Linked DNA regions of Homo sapiens: region 1 is linked to region 2. Evidence: promoter capture Hi-C in 16 types of primary human blood cells and fetal thymus (Javierre and others, 2016). All regions are on one chromosome and are shown on one strand. Each heading gives the region's core, a stretch centred on a gene start or on the middle of the fragment in contact. The rest is flanking DNA. Distances are from core to core; before and after follow the strand shown. Region 1 has its middle 14 kb from the start of LINC01537. Region 2 holds the start of PDE2A (phosphodiesterase 2A).

Region 1 (4,817 bases), core at 2,077-4,576, 120 kb before region 2:
TCGGGGATTGGGCTATCCTGCCAGCTGGACCCAAGATGCCAAGCTGGAAAATGATGGTCATCAGCTAAGTCTCCTCCTCCCTCCCATCTATCTATGTCCTGTGACCTGAGGGGTCCCTCCCTGACCCACTCACCGTGTTGGTTTCCTAGGGCTGCTGGAACTAACGGTCACAAACGGGTGACTTCAAACAACAGAAATGTATGGTCTCACAGTTCTGGAGGCTGAACGGCTGAAATCACAGTGGTGTCGGCCGTGTTCTCTCTGAAGGTTCTAGGGATCTCTCCTTGCCTCTTCCAGCCTCTGGAGATTGCTAGCTTCGGTTCCTTGGTTTGTGGTAGCACAACTGCAGTCTCTGCCTCCGTCTTCATATGGGCTTCTTCCTGTGCGTCTGTGTTATTTCCCTCTTCTCATAAGTCTTCTTACACCAGATGCTGGATTACAGCTCACCACAATATGATCCATCTTAACTTGATCACACCTTCAAAAAAACACCCTATTTCACACTCATTGATAGTGGAGGTGAGGACTTGCACAGATCTAGAGACTGGAGGACGTAGTTCAACCCACAACAGCTACCAACCTGGAGTGCTATAGTTGTCTGTTTTGAACCCAAGTCTCTTCTGCTCTTCTGTGTCTGAAGCTAAAGCCCTCTTCCTGGGAGTCCCTTCTGGCCCCTCTGTCTTTGTCTGAAGACAAAATGAGGAATGAGCTCCCTCCTTCCCAGAAATGCACCTTCATGGAGCCCTGCACTTCAGAGAGCTGCAGCTTTAACAGTGGCTGAAACCTCTCATGCCTTAAATATCCTCACAGCAGCCTTAACAAGGTTTATTATTTTTTAAAAATGTCACTAGGTTTTAAAATGTCACTAGGAGAACAGGTGGTGTTTGGTTACATGAATAAGTTCTTTAGTGGTAATTTCTGAGAGTTTGGTGCACCCATCACCTGAGCAGTGTACGCTGTATCCAATGTGTAGTCTTTTATCCCTCAACCCCCTCCCACCCTTTCCCCCAAGTCCCCAAAGCCCATTGTATCATTCTTATGCCTTTGCATCCTCATAGCTTAGCTCCCACTTACAAATGAGAACATACGATGTTTGGTTTTCCATTCCTGAGTTACTTCACTTAGAATAATGGTCTCCAATTCCATCCAGATTGCTGCAAATGCCATTACTTCATTCCTATACATGCATACATACACACATACCTATATATTTCATTCCTATATATACATACATACCACAATTTCTTCATCCACTCATTGATTGATGAGCATTAGGGCTGGTTCCATATTTTTGCAATTGCAAACTGTACTGCTATAAACATGCGCATACAAATATCTTTTTTGTATAATGACTTCTTGTCCTCTGGGCAGATACCCCAGGAGTGGGATTGCTGGATCAAATGGTAGTTCTACTTTGAGTTCTTCAAGGAATCTCCACACTGTTTTCCACAATGGTTTTACTAATTTACATTCCCACCAACAATGTAAAAGTGTTCCCTTTTCACCACATCCACGCCAACATCTATAATTTTTTGATTTTTTTTATCACGGTCATTTTTGCAGGAATAAGATTGTATCACATCGTAATTTTGATTTGCATTTCCCTGATCATTAGTGATGTTGAGCATTTTTTCAGAAGTTTGCTGGTCATTTGTTTATCTCTTAAGGTTTGTGGCCGGGGCGGTGGCTCATGCCTGTAATCCCAGCACTTTGGGAGGCCGAGGCGGGCGAATCATGAGGTCAGGAGTTTGAGACCTGCCTGGCCAACATAGTGAAACCCTGTCTCTACTAAAAATACAAAAAAATAGCCACGCATGGCAGCGTGCGCCTATAGTCCCAGCTACTTGGGAGGCTGAGGCAGGAGAATTGCTTGAACCCGGGAGGCGGAGGCTGCAGTGAGCCGAGATCATGCCACTGTACTCCAGCCTGGACGACAGAGCAAGACTCCGTCTCAAAAAAAAAAGAAAAAAAGAATGTTTATCATTATTCCCATTTTATAGATGAGGAAGCTGAGACTTGGGAAAGTTAACAGCCTTACACAAAGCCATGCAGCAAGGAAATGGCAGAGCAGGGACTTGAAGCAGTTCTGCCTGATGCTAGAGATCATGCCCTGAACCACTGCATTCTACTGTCTAGATGCTTCCCCTTGGCGGGCAGCTGCCAGCCGTCAAGAGGGTCCATGGGAAGCACATCCCACAACTTAGAAAAGTGACACGGAAAACTAAAAGCTTAAGAGAGAAAACAAAATTGGGGGCCTGTGTTTTGGTCACTAGGAAGACCCAGGGATGAGGAGTCACATGAAGAGATTAAAAACAGATGCTTAGGGGCAGTTTGGGGTGACATTTCTTTAAGGAGGATTTTTTTCCATTGGTGATATTTTAGAATTTATTTGATGGCAACATAGTATAAATTTTGTTCTTTTTCTCTGACCTACTTTTATATGCCCCACTCATAGTGAATGTCGTTTTGCATCCTGGAACCTGCCAGTGTCCTGGAAGCCAGTTTGTTTTGATCCATGTTCAGCCAGTCATGCAAGCAGGATTCCGTCGTGAACATGATTCCCATTGATGGGAGGCCTGGCTGTTTGTCATGCAGGCATGGTTTTGCTGGGCAGACTGTTTTCTTCTGTTGAATGAGGTGACTTGTGTGACCGTGATCACCACTGAGATAGTACTGAAGCTCTGCAGGCCAGCCCAGGGCTCCTGAGTAGATGAAATCGCTCAGATTGGATTTTTAATAATAAATGACTCACATGTCATTTAAGCTTTCAGTGAATTTTTGCTGAGTCCATACTCCATCTCAGGTTCTGTGTTGGGTGCTAAGGACATAAAATGAACTAGATTTAGTCTCTCCCCTCAAGGAACTCAGGCTATATTAGAAGAGAAGACAGGCAATTACAACCAATGGGATCAGTGCTTCAAGAAAGCTGCACCAGTCAGCGTTCTTAGCTGTGTACGCCATACAGGTTTAAGTAGAAGGAGAAGAGAACTAGGCTTAGTGCTACACAGCCAAAGACAACAGGGCCAGGGACAATGCAGCCAGCCAAAACGCCCAACTGTGCCACGGGAATTTCTACTGGAAACACTACCTGTAACTTGGCACCTATGTGAGGTTCTGGCTATTAGAAACTCCCCCATGGACAGCCCTGAAATACCCAGACACCTCTGTCACAGCTCCTTTCCAGATGATTCTATCCACCTGCATGCAGTCATCAATGCCTAGGATGTACTTCCACCTCCACATCTGACTGGGGCACTTTCCTGATGGAACTCAGGTCACACATGAAACCCAAGCTGCAGAGGAGCCTAGAAAATGTCATTTTAGTTTTCCAGCTTCTACAACAGGAAGGCAGTCTAGAAGGGATTGGGCAAGTAGGTAATTGTAACTGCTATTTTGGAAAAATATATGCACCAGTGAGCTGGGCCAGATCACAGAGAGTTTGCTTGGGTACAAAGATTGGTAAGAATAGCGATTCAGACCAGGGTTCAAGGGTGCTTCCACTTTGGTTCACTGCTGAGAGAGCAAATAAGCTGGTAAAGGTAGAGATACAAATATGCCCTCATACAGGGGCACTTGGAGCCAAATGGTCAAAGCACAGCAACAAATCCACCAGGGCAGGGAAGCCCTTGCTGCCCATTGGCAACCCTTTATTCTGCTGGGCTGAGGGGGAGTGTCCACATCAGCACTGTTGGCATGAAGTGGATTCCTTGTTTTGCCAGTGTCAACTTCTGTGTCCCCCTCTCTCTGCATCATCAAGCCTATCATAATGTGGCCTTGACCCACCACAGCGACATAAATATTTCAGTGATCAATATCAATATCCAATTGTGATTGGATCCCAATATTACTGGCTAAAAGTGGAGTTGGAGGAAGGATAATGTCTATATTAAAGCTTCTGGGATTTTTTTCCTTTATATCCTTTTTTCTTATATATATATGATATAGAAATAGAAACAGAATTTACCTGTGGTAACAAGTTGATCAATTATTTGGTGCAAATATTTTAAGAGACATTTTGATTACTCAGTAGTAAATCCAAAATCTTATTCTGATATGAAGGAGTTCTAAGCAATGAGATGCTAATTTGTTCTGCATTAAAGTGTAAATGTTGACTGAGAGGCATATGCTAAACTAGAGAGACAGAGGGAAACTAGTTTTCCATCTCACCAGGCATCAGATAAGAAGGTGGAATGCCCTGACTCCAGGTAGGGACACATTCTTGGTGATAGATCAGGAGCTGGAGAAAGAGACTTCCACCAGGGACCCTTCTCTTCCAAGGAAGTATGTTAAGTTTAAACCCTAAAGACAATAATATAGTGGCTAATTTAAAATGTTTTCCCTATCTCTACATTATGATTTCTTTCCTGTTATCCCAGGATTTTAGTAGAATTTTGTAGAACTTTCTTACCATGCTTTGGGAATTATGGGAAATACACTTATCTATACTTGATGAAGTTAGATTGAGGAAAGGCAAAATCATCACAGATTCAAGAAATACTATTTGCAAACCACACTGAAAAAGACATGCTATGAATCTCAAACAGAATAAATACAAAGAAAACCACATCTAAGCACATTGTGATAAAACTTCTGCAGACCAAAAATAAAGATAAATTATTCAAAGCAGCCAGAGAAAAACATGTATTACTTTCAAAGGAGAAATAATAAGACTGATGGCTGACTTTTCATCAGAAACAATAGAAGTCCAGGGGCTGGGCGCAGTGGCTCACACCTATAATCCCAGCAATTTGGGAGGCTGAGGCGGGTGGATCACAAGGTCAGGAGATCGAGACCATCCTGGCTAACACACGGTGAAA
Region 2 (4,905 bases), core at 1,409-3,908:
GCCAAAGGGTAGTGATGAAGCCATAGTCTCAGTTTCCCTGTCTGGCAAGAGATGGCTCCATGATCTCTGACCCTCTGCATCCTAGCTAGAAACACTACAAAGATCTCTCCCACTACCTCAGCCCACCCACGCCCAGCTTTCCTGAGCCTTCCATGAGCCTTTTCCCTCATGAGATCCTGACTTACTGAGATGTCTGCACTACACCCCTGACCCCAGTCCAAGCCTGAGCCACCTAGACATTCCCTTCCCTGTTCTCATCTATCCAGCCTTTCCCAAGTTCTCAAAAAGCTCCAGAACTCACTGACCCCTGTATTGGCTTGGCCTCCACTCTAGCCTCCTGGCCCCACCTCTCTCTTCCAGTTCAACCCAGACAATGCCACCGAGGCAGGTTTCTTTATTTTTCTTCTTCTTTTTTTTTTTCTTCTTTTGAGACAGAGTCTCACTTTGTCACCCCCAGGCTAAAGTGCAGTAAGGCAATCTCAGCTCACTGCAACCTCCACCTCCCAAGTTCAAGCGATTCTCATATTCTCATGCCTCAGCCTTCTAAGTAGCTGGGACTACAGGCGTGTGCCACCACACCCAGCTAATTTTATTGTATTTCTAATAGACACTGGGTTTCACCATGTTGGCCAGTCTCGTCTCAAACTCCTGGCCTCAAGTGATCCACCTGCTTCTGCCTCCCAAAGTGATGGGATTACAGGCATGAGCCACCATGCCTGGCCCAGGGCAGGTTTCTAGAACCCAAATCTGATCATGTCTCTCCCCTATATAAAACCTTTCTGGGCTCCCCAGGGCTCTCTGGATAAAGCCTAAGAGTCCTGGATCTTAAAGTTCTATTGAATGTGGGTCCTGCCTGCCCCCCACTCTATACAGTGTCTTCACTGCTCCAGGACATGCCCAGCCCAGGGCCTTTGCTTATGCAGTTCCCACCCCACCCCCACCTGTTAGCATGACGTTGATCTCTACTGCTTAATTATTCTCAAGCTATTTTATGTCTAAGAAGCTTAGGAAGCCCCAGAGGGCAGAGTCATTATTGCCTATTTCTTTTCTGCATCTTTCCCACAGGGTGTAGAATGAATTGTCCTGAGTTCAAAGAGGCGGTCATACATTCAGCCCCTCCCTGCCCTGCATCAGTGGGCCATGGTGTCCCAGCTGTATCCTCAATTGCCAGGGGAAGGAAACAGCCACCCACACACACTCAGATGAATACACACATATAGATACACACACACACCAGCCACAGAAGCACCGATATACACACTAGCACCATGATCACACACCCACACCAGAATACTTATACGCACACAGCCACATCCACCTCCACACACAGCAATGCTATTATTCACACACTAACAAATACACACACATAAATGCACATGGAACAGATAAAAAATGCACACTGATTCACTCTATTTTGCAGACACAACACACATAATATACAAACTCAACCTAATAGACACACCTACATACATATGCAGACCAACCTGCACTCACACTCAGACACATGCGAATAAACTCTCACTCACACAGGGATGATCACAAACTCTGACAGGCTGCTTTACATCCAACCACCAAGGACCCTAGAGCTCTACAGGCCCCTCTACACCCAACATGTCCCTTACATTCCACATGTATACACACACACACACACACACATACCCTGCCTACCACCTCGGCAGCCCTTAGTAGAGGGGTGTCGCCACGGCGCCCCCCACTCACTTGCACATGCACCCCCCTGCACGTGGACACACACGAGGCTGGCACCATATTCCATCTGGCTCCGTAGAACCCTATCCTGGGACAGACGCTTTGGGGTAAAGTTTCATAAAGTGGTGTCCCTGAACCCCAATTCCCAATTCCATGGAAGGTGGTTACCTCTAACCCTCTCTTGCTCCAGGGCCACTCTTATTCATATTTTCTCCATCTTTCCCCCTCCCCACCTCCTTCACACACACATAGCCTTGGTGGGCCAAGACACTCTCCCTCTCCGGGTCCTGAACCAGCCTATTGCAGCCCCGAGAGCTCCTCCCAACTACTTGGCAGACCTCCCCCTCCCCACATACACCCTCAGCCCTTGAAGAACCGGTTCAGGTTCATTATCAGCCCCTCCTCCAACCAGCAGCCCCTTCCATGGGACCCCAGCCTCATCACCTACTAGGTTGACGTTAGACACCCTCATTCTGCTCAGAGGTAACCTGCCCCCACCCCAGGCTGCAGTCTGGCAACGCGGGGAGGAGGGGTGCCCAGGAACAGGATCGATCCTTCCACGTGGCTCAGCTCCATGCCAACCCCAGCTCCTTGGAGGGACTCCCAGGACCCTGTCTGTGGCACCTCTCACAGCCGCTCACCACCCCAGCCCCTCACTATACTCACGGCTCAGCCGGTCGCGCTGCCGGGTACTGCTGGCTCCTGCAGAGGATGGAGTGGCCGCATGCCTGCCCCATCACTCCTCATCGTCCGCCTCCCCAGCCAGACTAAGGTGGCACCTCGCCCTGTCCCCGCTGCCTGGAGTTCAGGGCAGGGCACCCCCAGCAGGCACAGGGACCAAGAGCAGTGGGCTGCCCCCTACTCAGCCTGGACTCAACACCCCAATCCAGCTCTGCTGCCCCGCTGCTCCCGCCTCTCCCGCTGCCACTGCCTCTGCTGCTCGGCTGGCTCTGGGAGGAGGTTGGAGCAGGTCTGATAATGCAGAAGGGGGAGGGAGGAGGGAGGAGGAACAGAGAGAGGCCCAGACAGAGAGGGAGAGAGGGAGAGAGGGAGGGGTAGAGAGAGAGTCTGACTGGGAGAGAGGAAAAAAGACTCACAGACAGAGAGACTGAGAGATAAACAGAGACAGGAAGGGGGACAGTAACACATGAAGAGGGAGAGGAGAGAGGGATCAGAGCCTTAGCGAGATCAAGATGGAAGTACAAAGAGACCAGAGAGGCATAGAGAAACACACACACAGAGGAACAAAGGCAGAAAAGGAAAAAAAATCAGAGGCAGAAATAGAAAGAGAGTGGGGTAGGGGGAAAGGGGAGTGGCTGACAGAGGAGAGAGGGGAGAGGACGAGGGATTTACAATCCTCATGGGCTAGGATGGGGCTGGGGACTTGAGGGGCAGCAGACCCAGACCCTCTGCTGCCCCATCGCAGAAGCCTTCAGGATGAGGGGACACGCTTGTGCCCTCAAGTCTGAGAGATCAGGCCTCCATGCACAGCTAGCTGCCCTCTCCTCTGGGCTCCCTCACCCGGTGTGTATCATCTCCTAGCGTGCATCCCAGCCTGGAGCTGGGTCCACGGAAGACTTAGGGGGCTTTACTGATGGCCTTTGGACTCAGAGCCTTGTCACAGGGCCCACCTCTTGGTGGCTTGGTTTAGCTGGGACTTGGAGCTGATGCGTGAGCATGGACTTCTACCAGGATCTGTGGAGACCTAGGCCACAGCCTGCCCCACATGGCCTTCGCTGCTCACAGACTACAGGCATGGGGGAAGGCCTGTTGCACCCCCACCCTGCTTCCAAAGAGGACTCCCTAGGATAAAGCTATAACCTAGTGAAATAGAGGCATTTTAGGCCCTAGGACAGATAGAGAGTTGTCACAGCAGAGCTACTATTGTATGCAGGAGAAACAGCTCCACACCTTGAGGCAGGAAATGGGGATTTGGATCCTGGCTTCACCATTAACTTACTTATTCATTGGCCTACCAGTGGCTGAGCTCATGGCTCACACTATCCCTTGTCTCAGAGAAGCACTCGGGCTGGGGAGTGGGGAGGGGAGACTTGCAGGCTGTGACAGAAAGAAGCACAGGGTCTGTGAAGCCCAGAGGGACCCCTGACCTAGTTTGGGTGGTGGGGGGGCGGTTAGCAAGCATTTCTGGAAGAGAGGGTCCAAGCTGGGTCTTTTAAGGCAGAAGAGGGTATATTCCAGGGTAGAGGAGCTACAGCAAACCCTCCACAGCAACCCCATCTCTCTGAGCTGTGGGGAGAATACCTCCCCGCCACACAACAGGCTTCAAGCAGAGAAGTCCCTGAGGCTGAATAGAAACCTGACCCATGTTGAAGAACATGGGGGTGCACGGTGGAGGGGGCAAGGTCAGAAATGACTGAGCTTGTGTAGATGGCCTGCCCAGGCTGGGTGCTGCAGAAAGCAGTTGTCTTGTGGCCTGGGAAGTGTCAGGAAAGAAAATATGAGGAGTCTTTGCTTCCCACTGTGGCCCCAGAAGGCATCATAGAATTTTAGATCTCTGAACTCTGGGCAAACCATTTTCTCAAAGGGAACGAGGCCCAGGCTGGTTGTAAAGCAGCTGAGCCAGCCCAGAACTCATGTCTTGCTTCTCCACCTCACCTATCACTGGGGCCTCGCTGCTCCATTCCTGACAGCTAGGAAGGCATTCTCTGGGCTCAGGAAGCTGCAGCCCTGGACCATGGCGTCCTGCTCCCTCACAGCTCCCCTTCATGTCCTGGGAACCTGCTCACTGGTCGGAGGAACCTGGCAGCAAGAAGCTGAGTCAGAAGAGTTCAAAGGAGGGTTCCTCCTGGGCATGCATGGGTGCAGGTGTGACGAGGTCTCACCTGGCCCTCAGCCTCCTTTCTGCCCTCCCACTTCAGAAACAATGGTGGTGGCCTCATCTTCAGAAATCTCCTGGGAATACACTCAAGCAAGCAGGTGGAAGGGAAGGTCTCCTCCCCATCCCACTGCCACACCAGACTCCACAGCCACCCAGAAGTGGAGAGTCTGCAGGAACAAACTGCAAGATTCAGGACTCAGAAGGGCTAATGGGCACTCAGGACTTAGAGCCCGGCAGGTGGAATTCAAATCCCAGCTCTGCCAAGTGCCTAGGCAAGGTATTTCACCTTCCTGAACTTCAATTTAGTTTCCTCATCTGAAATATGGGGTCACGAATTCCAAGCTCAAAAGGTTGTGAGG

Evidence for each region. The method cuts DNA at HindIII sites, captures the fragments that hold promoters and counts their contacts. A CHiCAGO score of 5 or more calls a contact.
Region 1: a contact is called between a fragment that was not itself captured here and the fragment with the promoter of PDE2A in region 2, in 2 of 17 cell types (endothelial precursors and megakaryocytes). The highest score is 5.3, in endothelial precursors.

The regions. Positions count from the first base shown.
Region 1 is chr11:72,553,994-72,558,810 of GRCh38, forward strand. No RefSeq gene overlaps it. Among named protein-coding and RNA genes, the nearest start is that of LINC01537, 14 kb to the right of the region's middle. The HindIII fragment of the contact is 1,128 bases long and covers 2,763-3,890 here.
Region 2 is chr11:72,671,764-72,676,668 of GRCh38, forward strand. PDE2A (phosphodiesterase 2A) reads right to left here and starts at 2,659. Exons shown (of 31, transcript NM_002599.5): 1 at 2,374-2,659. The coding sequence starts at 2,444. RefSeq lists enhancers at 1,228-1,854, 1,855-2,480, 2,481-3,107, 3,108-3,732, 3,883-4,383. The HindIII fragment of the contact is 6,386 bases long and covers 1,002-4,905 here.